Linked DNA regions of Homo sapiens: region 1 is linked to region 2. The links are contacts of gene promoters, found by promoter capture Hi-C in blood cells and fetal thymus (Javierre and others, 2016). All regions are on one chromosome and are shown on one strand. Each heading gives the region's core, a stretch centred on a gene start or on the middle of the fragment in contact. The rest is flanking DNA. Distances are from core to core; before and after follow the strand shown.

The links. The method cuts DNA at HindIII sites, captures the fragments that hold promoters and counts their contacts. A CHiCAGO score of 5 or more calls a contact.
Region 1: a contact is called between a fragment that was not itself captured here and the fragment with the promoter of MED17 in region 2, in 2 of 17 cell types (non-activated CD4 T cells and total CD4 T cells). The highest score is 6.1, in non-activated CD4 T cells.

The regions. Positions count from the first base shown.
Region 1 is chr11:83,286,821-83,292,117 of GRCh38, reverse strand. All of the region lies in intron 1 of CCDC90B-AS1 (CCDC90B antisense RNA 1), which reads right to left. Among named protein-coding and RNA genes, the nearest start is that of CCDC90B, 3.1 kb to the right of the region's middle. The HindIII fragment of the contact is 5,322 bases long and covers 1-5,296 here.
Region 2 is chr11:93,781,033-93,785,587 of GRCh38, reverse strand. It overlaps MED17 (mediator complex subunit 17), which reads right to left and starts at 1,306. Exons shown (of 12, transcript NM_004268.5): 1 at 825-1,306. The coding sequence starts at 1,074. RefSeq lists silencers at 574-768, 770-899 and enhancers at 1,030-1,249, 1,191-1,485. The HindIII fragment of the contact is 2,360 bases long and covers 305-2,664 here.

The sequences.
Region 1 (5,297 bases), core at 1,386-3,885, about 10 Mb after region 2:
TGGAGACACCATGACACATATGGTCTCTACCATAATGGAGAAAACAAATATTAAGTGCAGAGACATGGGAAGGCTGGGTTGCTGTATGAGTCCATAACAAAAGTACCAAATCTGCATGTTGTTTGAGTGGGAATGACTTCTTAAAGAGTTACTCTAAAAAGTCACCATTTAAACTGGAATCTGAAAGATATAAAGGAATTGGCCAGATAAAGAGGAGAAAGAGCTCCAAGTTGAGTAGTGATGCTTTACCATATGCAAAGTCCCTGAGTAGGAAGGAGCAAAGCGATGAGTAAATTGTACTTGCTCACTCCAATCCTCTCTCCTGGACCCCTTGCCTTACAACCTCTACTAACTAAAACCCCTAAGGTTCAAATCCTATCTCTTCTTGATAACCATTATCAAAAAGCATTTAACCTTCAACTGAATTATAGGATTTATTATTTTCTTAACATTTACATGACACTAACCTATTAAAGCTCTGTGTTGAAGGCTATTAAAATGCTTGTTCTATTCTCTCAGTTATTAATATATTACAAATTACTGGAGAGCAGAAATCTTTGCAATCCTTGCGTATCCTAGCAGAAATCCCTGCACGTAGTAAGAACTTGAATAGTTGTTGGATTGAACTGGTTTTCTTTACATTCCTCACATCTAACCTTAAACCTAGCTGGCACTCAGATATTTCTGTAAGTAAAACTGGAAAAATGAAAAATGTTTAAAAGTCCAGAGAAGAATAATATTGTGAAGGGTCCGAGATCTTACCCTATTAGCAGGCTATCAAGTTATCCTGTCATGGTTGCATGGATGCTGGTAGAAGATATGAGACTCCTTGCTAGAAACAAAGAACCCAATTACTGATGGTGCAGCGAGCAGCACGAGTATCGGCATATTTGTGTCAGCTCCCCTTGGCCCCAAGTTCATGGGGATGATGCAGCTGGGGCTACGTAGATGCCTGAGCACGTACAGTACATTGCATTACAGAGAGGAACCCTGACCTATGAGAACACAAATCTTTTATAATAGGCAGTAAGCATGAGGCCTTTTGCTCCAGAGAGAGATGCTATATTTCCTAAGGTTGTTCGTTATACAAAACTGCCACAACAAAAGGCAGAGAAGACCTCCATTTGTAAAACATACAGAAACATGAGACACCCATGGAAATTATTTCCTAACTCTGAGTAAGCAGGTATTATTATTGTTTATTGGGTGCTTGTATATGCCAGGTCCAGTGCTAAGTATTTTAGATGCATCATCTTTTCTATTCCTCTCAACAAACATGAGAAAACATTAACAAATTTATGGAAAAATATTTTTATAAATTAAGATGTTTAACAAAGAAACAATAGCAACCAAGGAGAATCTGAAAATACACAGGAGCATTAGGAGGTCTCAGAGAGGAGCTGTATCTATTAGCTGAATACTATCTGGACTCACTTCATCTGCTATTCCTGCTTTTCCTTCCTATGCTTCTCTGGCCTGCATGGTAGATTATGGATGACCCAAGCTCCTGCACTCACTTGATATAGTTCCAGCCAGCCTCAGAGAATGATTAAGAATCCCTGGATCTAATTGCCACTTCCATCAAAGAGAACATAATCAACACTGTATATGTGTGTTACAGAGAGAGCTTTATGTTAATATAAATAATAGTAACATGAATTAATATATAAAGAGATCCACTTTTTTCATAATAATTCCTTAAGTTAAGTAAAATATTGTGATAACACTTACTGGTCTGTATCTTCCACTAGCCTGTTAGCTCCTCCCAAGCAGGGATCCTATCATTTAACAGAATTATAATCATGTATATAATTATAATTATAATCCTGTATATAAGAATTATACAGAATTATAATTATGTATATACATGTATTAAGGATTTTCCTGTCACTAAGATTATTTTTAAAAATACTAAATTCTTGCATAATATTCCAAATTGGGACACTTCTGCAAGTTATTTAATCACTTTTGAATACTTAGACTATTTTCAATTTTTCACTACTATAAATAACATTGCAATAGTCATCCTTTTCAAAAATCTTAGCTACAGATGTGATTATTTACTATGGATAGCTTCTTAGAAGTGAAACTCTAGGCCAGGTGCGGTGGCTCACAGTTGCCTGTAATCCCAGCACTCTGAGAGACCGAGATGGGTGGATCACCTGAGGTCAGGAGTTCAAGACCAGCCTGACCAGCATGGCGAAACCCCACCTCTACTAAAAATACAAAAATTAGCTGGGTGTGGCAGCGCATGCCTGTAATCCCAGCTACTTGGGAGGCTGAGGCAGGAGAATTGCTTGAACCCGGGAGGCTGAGGTTGCAGTGAGCCAAGATCACACCGTTGCACTCCAGCCTGGGTGATAGAGCAAGACTCTGTCTCAAAAAAAAAAAAAAAAAAGAAGAAGTGAAACTCTGGCTATTTACTTTTTGGAGTTTCATAAATATATTACTAAATTGCTAAAGGCCAAAACTGGAAACACATTCCCCTTGAGAACTGGAACAAGAAAAGGATGCCCATTCTCACCACCCTTATTCAACATAGTACTGGAAGTCCCAGCCAGGGCAATCAGGCAAGAGAAATAAATAAAGATATTCAAATAGGAAGAGAGGAAGGTAAACTATCTCTCTTTGCCAACGATATGATTCTACACCTAGAAAACCCTAAAGACTCTCCCAAAGGCCCCTGGAACTGATAAACAAATTCAGTAAAGTTTCAGGATACACAATCAATGCACAAAAAATCAGTAGCATTTTTATACACCAATAATGTTCTAGCTGAGAATCAAATCAAGAACACAATCCCATTTACAATAGGCACAAAGAAAATGGAATACTCAGGATCATCTCACCAGGGAGGTGAAAGATCTCTGCAAGGAGAACTACAAAACACTACTGAAAGAAAGCAGAGACAACACAAATAAATGGAGAAATATTCCATGCTCATGGGTTGGAAGAATCAATACAGTTAAAATGGCCATACTATCCAAAACAAATTACAGATTTAACGCTATCCTTATCAAAATACCAACATCATTTTTCACAGAACTAGAAAAACCTCTTCTAAAATTAATTTGGAACCAAAAAAGAGCCTGAATAGTCAAAGCAATCTTAAGCAAAAAGAACAAAGCAAGACTTCAAACAATACTATAAGGCTAAACTAATCAAAACAGCATGGTAGTGTTACAAAAACAGACACATAGACCAGTAGAACAGAATAGAGAACCCAGAAATAAAGCCACACACCTAAAACCATCTGGTCTTCAACAAAATCAACAAAAATAAGCAACACGGATAGCATTCCCTATTCAGTAAATGGTGGTGGGATAACTGGCTAGCCATATGCAGAAGAATGAAACTGGACCCCCCTACCTCTCACCATATACAAAAATTACCACAAGCTGGATTAAAGATTTAAAAGTAAGCCCTCAAACTATAAAAACTCTAGAAAAAAAACTAGGAAATACCCTTCTTGACACAGGCTTTGGAAAAGAATTTATAGCTAAGTCCCCAACAGCAATTACAACAAAAATAAAAACTGACAAGTGGGACCTAATTAAAGAGCTTCTGCACAGCAAAAGAAATTACCAACAGAGTAAACAGATAGCCTAAGAATGGGAAGGAGAAAATATTTGCAAACTATGCATCTGACAAAGGTCTAACATCCAGAATCTATAAGGAATTTAAACAAACCAAGAAGTATAAAACAATCCAATTAAAAAATGAGCAAAGGACATGAACACACACTTCTCAAAAGAAGACATACAAATAGCCAACAAACATGAAAAAATCCTCAACACCACTGATCATTAGAGAAATGCAAATCAAAACTACAATGAGATGCCATCTCACACCCATCAGAATGGCAATTATTAAGAAAAAAAATTCACATATTGGTTAGGCTGTGAAGAAAAGGGAATGCTTATACTCTGTTGATGGGAATGCAAACTAGTTCAGCCACTATGGAAAGCAGTTTGGAGATTTCTCAAAGAACTTAAAATACAACTACCATTCAACCCAGCAATCCCACTACTGGGTATATACCCAAAGGAAAATAATTCATGCCATCAAAAAGACACAGAGCTGGGCACCGCAGCTCATGCCTGTAATCCCAGCACTTGGGAGGCCTAGGCGGGTGGATAGTTTGAGCCCAGGAGTTCTGGACCAGCCTGGGCAACATGGCAAGACCCCATCTCTACAAAACATGCAAAAATTAGCCAGTTGTGGTAGTGCACACCTGTAGTCACAGCTACTTGGAAGCCTGAGGCAGGAGGATCAGTTAAGCCCAGGAAGTTGAGGCTGCAGTGAGCCATGCACGACTGCACTCCAGCCTGAGTGACGCAGCAAAACCCTGCCTCAAGCCAAAAAAAAAAAAAAAAAAAAAAAGACACATGCAACCGTATGTTCATTGTAGTGCCATTCACGATAGCAAGGACATGAAATCAACCTAAGTGCCCATCAACAGTGGACTGGATAAAGAAAATGTGGTACATATACACCATGGAATATAATGCAGCCATAAAAATAAGGAAATTATACTCTTTGTAGCAACATGGATGGAACTGGAGCCATTATCCTATGCAACCTAATGCCAAGAACAGAAAACCAAATACACATGTTCTCACTTATAAGTAGGAGCTAAACATTGAATATATGATGGTAAACGTGGAAACAACAGGCATTGAGGATCATTAGATGAGGAAAGGGGGAGACGGACAGAGGGGCATGGGTTGAAAAAGCACCTGTTGAGTACTATGCTTACATCCTGTTGGGATCATTGGGACCCCTAACCTCGATATACCCTAAGGTTTTGCGTTTTGTATTTTGAAACTGGTAAGATCAAACTTTTTTCCCAATTTTTTTTTTTTTTTTTTAGATCGAGTCTCACTCTGTCGCCCAGGCTGGAGTGCAATGGTGTGATCTCGACTCACTGCAACCTCCGCCTCCAGGATTCAAGCGATTCTCCTACCTCAGCCTCCTGAGTAGCTGGGATTACAGGCATGTGCCACCACGCCCGGCTAATTTTGTATTTTTAATATAGACAGGGTTTCTCCACGTTGGTCAGGTTGGTCTCGAACTCCCGACCTCAGGTGATCTGCCCGCCTCGGCCTCCCAAAGTGCTGGAATTACAGGCATGAGCCACCACGCCCAGCCATCCCAGTGTTTTAAATAGCAATTTATATTTCCTCTTCATGAATTGTCTGTTAAAGCAGTTGTTGGCGGGAATCAAGTTTTGTTCTTTCAATGTGCTTCGGGCCTTAGAAATGGTGTTTGTTACTTAGTTGACTCTCACAAAGCTT
Region 2 (4,555 bases), core at 57-2,556:
GTGTGAGGTATAAAGTAGTATTTACCTTTTTTTGCAAATAGACCCCTAATAATCCTAACAGCACTGCCCTGAAATGACATCTTTAAATTCCCATTTACACTGGGTGTGCTGCATAACTAAATTAAGAATTTTGATTTTTTTTTCAAAAATCCTTGACAATAATGAGAATCTGAAACCCACTCATTATTTCTTCACTTCCCTCCTAGTCTCCTCCCTTCCAGTTTTGCTTTCCCTATAATTCATTTATTAGAAAGCATCTAGAGTAAACTTTAACAAAACCATCTCTACTTATCCTGCAAAAGCTTTCAGTGGTCTTAACACTAGTCAAACGCTTATCCCGGCCTACTGGGTTCTACATGATCTGGACCCGCCTACCTCTTGGACCTCGTCACACATTTCAGTCAAAACAGACCTCTTTTCTGCAGGTGCTACTATCATCATTCACACCGCACAAGGATGCAAAGTAACTCGCCCAAGGTCACACAGCCGGCAAGGGGCAGAGCCCCGATCTAGGGCTCTTTTAGCCACTAAGTGTGCTACATTAAAGGCCCTCTACAGAGAAGCATTCATTTAAACATTTCACGGTTTGACAGTGTCTCTAAACGCTGCCATTCAAGGAGACCCGCAGGAGTATTACGTAAAGTCGTGTCCTACCTTGTCCGGCAGCAACAAAAAGATGACGACCAAGTATCCTTACGCTTCCGCTAGAGGGACACTCAAAAGTTCTCGCACGCACAAGATCACCCCCATCGCGGGAGAGGCGGAGGCCCGCGCGGGTGCTGGGACCCAGACCGGGGGACTCGGGCAGCGGATGCAGGCCTTACCTTCCTCGTCGTCCTGGTCTGCGCTGGACCCGGCGCCCGGCCACTCCTGCGCGTCGCCCTCGGTCCCCGCCGCCTCCTCCTCCTCGGAGCCCGAACCCTGGCTGAAGTCTATCCGCTGGGCCAGACGCGCCAGATTCTGCGACATGGACAGCGGGGGCAGGTACGTCTCGGTGCCATCCAGGCCCACCTCATGGACCTGCTTCTCGCAGGCCGATTCGATGCTGATCCGCACTGCGCGCACCCCGGACATGCTGGCTGCGTCGGCCAGCGGTGGGAGGACCCCCCACGAGCCAAAAAACGAGGTACGAAGAGGAGGCTTCCCTGCGGAGAGCCGGGAACTCAGAAGCCCGCAGCCGCGGTGCCTCAGAAGACCCTCGGGAAACCGAACGCAACGCTCAGACTGGAAACAAAGGAGCTGGCCCAGCAACTTTCCCAGAACGCACCGCAAGCTCCCTCCTCGGTAAGTCTTTCGGAGCAAAACTGGGCAGGCGCGGAAGCTCCAGGGTTCCCTAGAGCGCTTCCGGTGAATCACGGTGCAGGGTGGGGTAAACTTCCGGGCCTATAAGAGGCGTGGCCGGCAGAGGGAGGGAAAGAGCGGTTTGGGAGCCGAGAGTGTGGCGGGTATATTCCTTGCTTTTTAAGCCTGCGTTTGTTTAAAAAGTGGATGAGGAAAGAAAGCTGCAGAGGCTAGAAGAGTTAAGGAAAAGGAAATTAATGGATCCTTGGATCTTAGCAATGAGAGTCCTGTTGAGAGAACTGAGATCTGGTGGCGCGCGCCTGTGGTCCAGCTACGCGGGTGGCTGAGGCGGGAGAATGGCTTGAGCCCTGGAGATGGAGGCTGCAGTGAGCCGAGATCTCACCGCTGCATTCCAGCCTAAGCAACAGAGTGGGATCCTGCCTCAAAACAAAAGTTATTTTAAATTAGCAAGAAATTTTTTAAAGAAACACTATCTGAAGAGTTAGAAATTAAGGGCATGGCTTGGGGGAAACAATCGTGCTTATCACCACTTAAAATTATACTACGTAATTATTTGGTTTCCTGTTAGTTATAACTCTATGACAGCCAATATCTGCAGCAGACATAATAGACTCTGGCATGTAGTAAGTGCTTAATATTTATTTTATGCCCGAGTAACAGAATAAATAATGTTGATCTCGCTTTTTTATTAGTGATGGGGTCCCACTATGTTGCCCAGGCTGAGTGCAGAGGTTATTCACAAGTGCTGTCAGCACGCTACAGCCTGGAGCTCCTGGGCTCCAACGATGCTCCTGCCTTAGCCTCCTGAGGAGCTGGGACTATAGGAGCGTGTCACCATGCCTGGCCTGCAAATAATATTTAAAAGATTAAGAAGAAGTGGTATAACTTCAGTCTTTGGGTCTCCAAGAACGTATTTCATTAGTAGGAATTCCACAGACAAAGATGGATTATTTTATATTACAAACCTCTATATTTCGTTTAAGGAATTATATATACCGTTTATCATGAGTGTTTGCCAGGTTTTGTTCTGACCAAGATATATCTAGGTTTTGAACTACTTTCCTAAGGTATTTAGGAAAATACGGTTGCCCTGGTGTCAGTCCCTGCTGAAGAAGAAAGTAGATGGCCGTGTGTGGAGGGGGTTGAATTTTCATGAGAGAAACCTATTTCTGGCAAGCTGTACAGTCTGTCGCCCAATCATGTTCGAGAACCACTGTACTTGCTTTTCGTGTAAATTTGTTTAAAAATTTTTTTTAACTTTATTTTAAAATCTGATTAATAGCCAGGCGCAGTGGCAGTCTAATAGTGCAGACAAAAACAAGACAACAACAAATGATTATGATTCCTAGAATAAGCAAAGCTTTTGCCACCAAGTCTTCAAGATCAAAACTAGCTGCTTAGCCAGTTGTTTAAAGATGTGTTGGATCTGAAAGGTTAGTTGTTAAGGTTTTCATATTATCCATTAACGTAGTGATATTATCTGATTCATCTGGGATACAGACATAACACACAGTTTTTATGATAATGCAAGTTCCTCCCTGGGCTTCGGTGAGTATGTCAAAAGCCATACGGTTTTGTAATAATGGCCTTTTCCATAAGAATAACTATTGTTTAATAATGGAATACTTATGTAGCTATCTTTTGGGTATAATTGGTTAGGACCTCTATATGCCAAATAACATCTTCAACACTCAGTTGTGGTATGAAGATGGAAGCTAAGTGATCATACCAATGAAACACAGGATGAACCCAATGAGATCATAAATAAGGAAAATTTGCAGGTTTTGGCAAAGTACAAACTACTCAAATATATGATTAAGCATAACCTGAAAAACATCATCCTAACTATCCTGGAAGTAACCATGGTCATAGGTTAGTGCCACATAGCCAAAATGTTCCATTTGGAGCTAATCAATAAATACATTAAATGGCATGCCAGTCAGTACTTTGTAATATAATGGTGTGAATACACAGTTCTTTGGGTATCCATGCCATATCTCCAGTGCTTTTGGGCCAGATATCTTTGGTATGATTTCTTTGTTCCCAACATAAAGGGGCAAAGTGGCCAGGCACGGTGGCTCACGCCTGTAATCCTCCACTTTGGGAGAATGAGGCGGGTGGATCACCTGAGGTCAGGAGTTCGAGACTAGCCTGGCCAACATGACGAAACCTCGTCTCTACTAAAAATACAAAAACTAGCTGGGCGTGGTGATGCATGCCTGTAATCCCAGGTACTCAGAAGGCTGAGGCAGGAGAATCACTTGAACCCAGGAGGCAGAGATTACAGTGAGCCAAGATCTCACCACTGCACTCCAGGCTGGGCAACAGAGTAAGACTCTGTCTCAAAAAAAATAAATAAATAAAAAGTTGGGGTGGCAAGGACAAGGTGGCTGGGCTGACAGAAGGAGGGATAAGCCAGATAAAACCATCCCCAATTTGTGTTATACCATTCTGAAATCAAGGTGTCTTATCTCTTAATTGGAACAGTGTCGTTGTTTCATTACTTAGTTGGGACAGTGCCAGCATTAAAGTTAACAAACTAGTTTCTTTTACTAAGAAGCTCCTTCCATGGCTTTTACTCTGTAAAGGTTTTGTTTCGTTTTGTTTTGTTTTGTTTTTGTTTTGTTTTTTGAGATGGAGTTTTGCTCTGTCACCCAGGCTGGAGTGCAGTGGTGCGATCTTGGCTCATTGCAACCTCCGCCTCCTAGGTTCAAGTGATTCTCCTGCCTTAGCCTCCCGAGTAGCTGGGACTACAGGTGCACACCACCACGACTGATTAATTTTTGTGTTTTTAGTCGAGACAGGGTCTCACTTTGCTGGCCAGGCTGGTCTCAAACTCCTGAGCTCAGTCGATCTGCCCGCCTTGGCTTCCCAAAGTGCAAGGATTACAGGTGTGAACTACTGCGCCCAGCCTTTAAAGTATTATTAATAGGCTAGTGATGTACTTTATCCTTCATCATACTACTGTCAAGCACCATGACTGTTTTTAAGAAACACAAATATATTTCTGATATTCTATGCAATATCTTCTCTCCTTGGAGCAATATATTTCTTTCCTTGGAGAGAAGATACCCACCAGGAAAGCCAGAACTACTGGAAAGGGGCATGAGACCACATGTTCAATCAGCATTTTTTTAAATAATCTATTAGCATAGTCCTAAGCCCATTGCAAAAAGAGGTTTGCTTTATGGGCAACAGTTAATGATAGTAGTGCCGAGACATGAAAACTAAGGACAAAAAGAAAGAAGTTTAA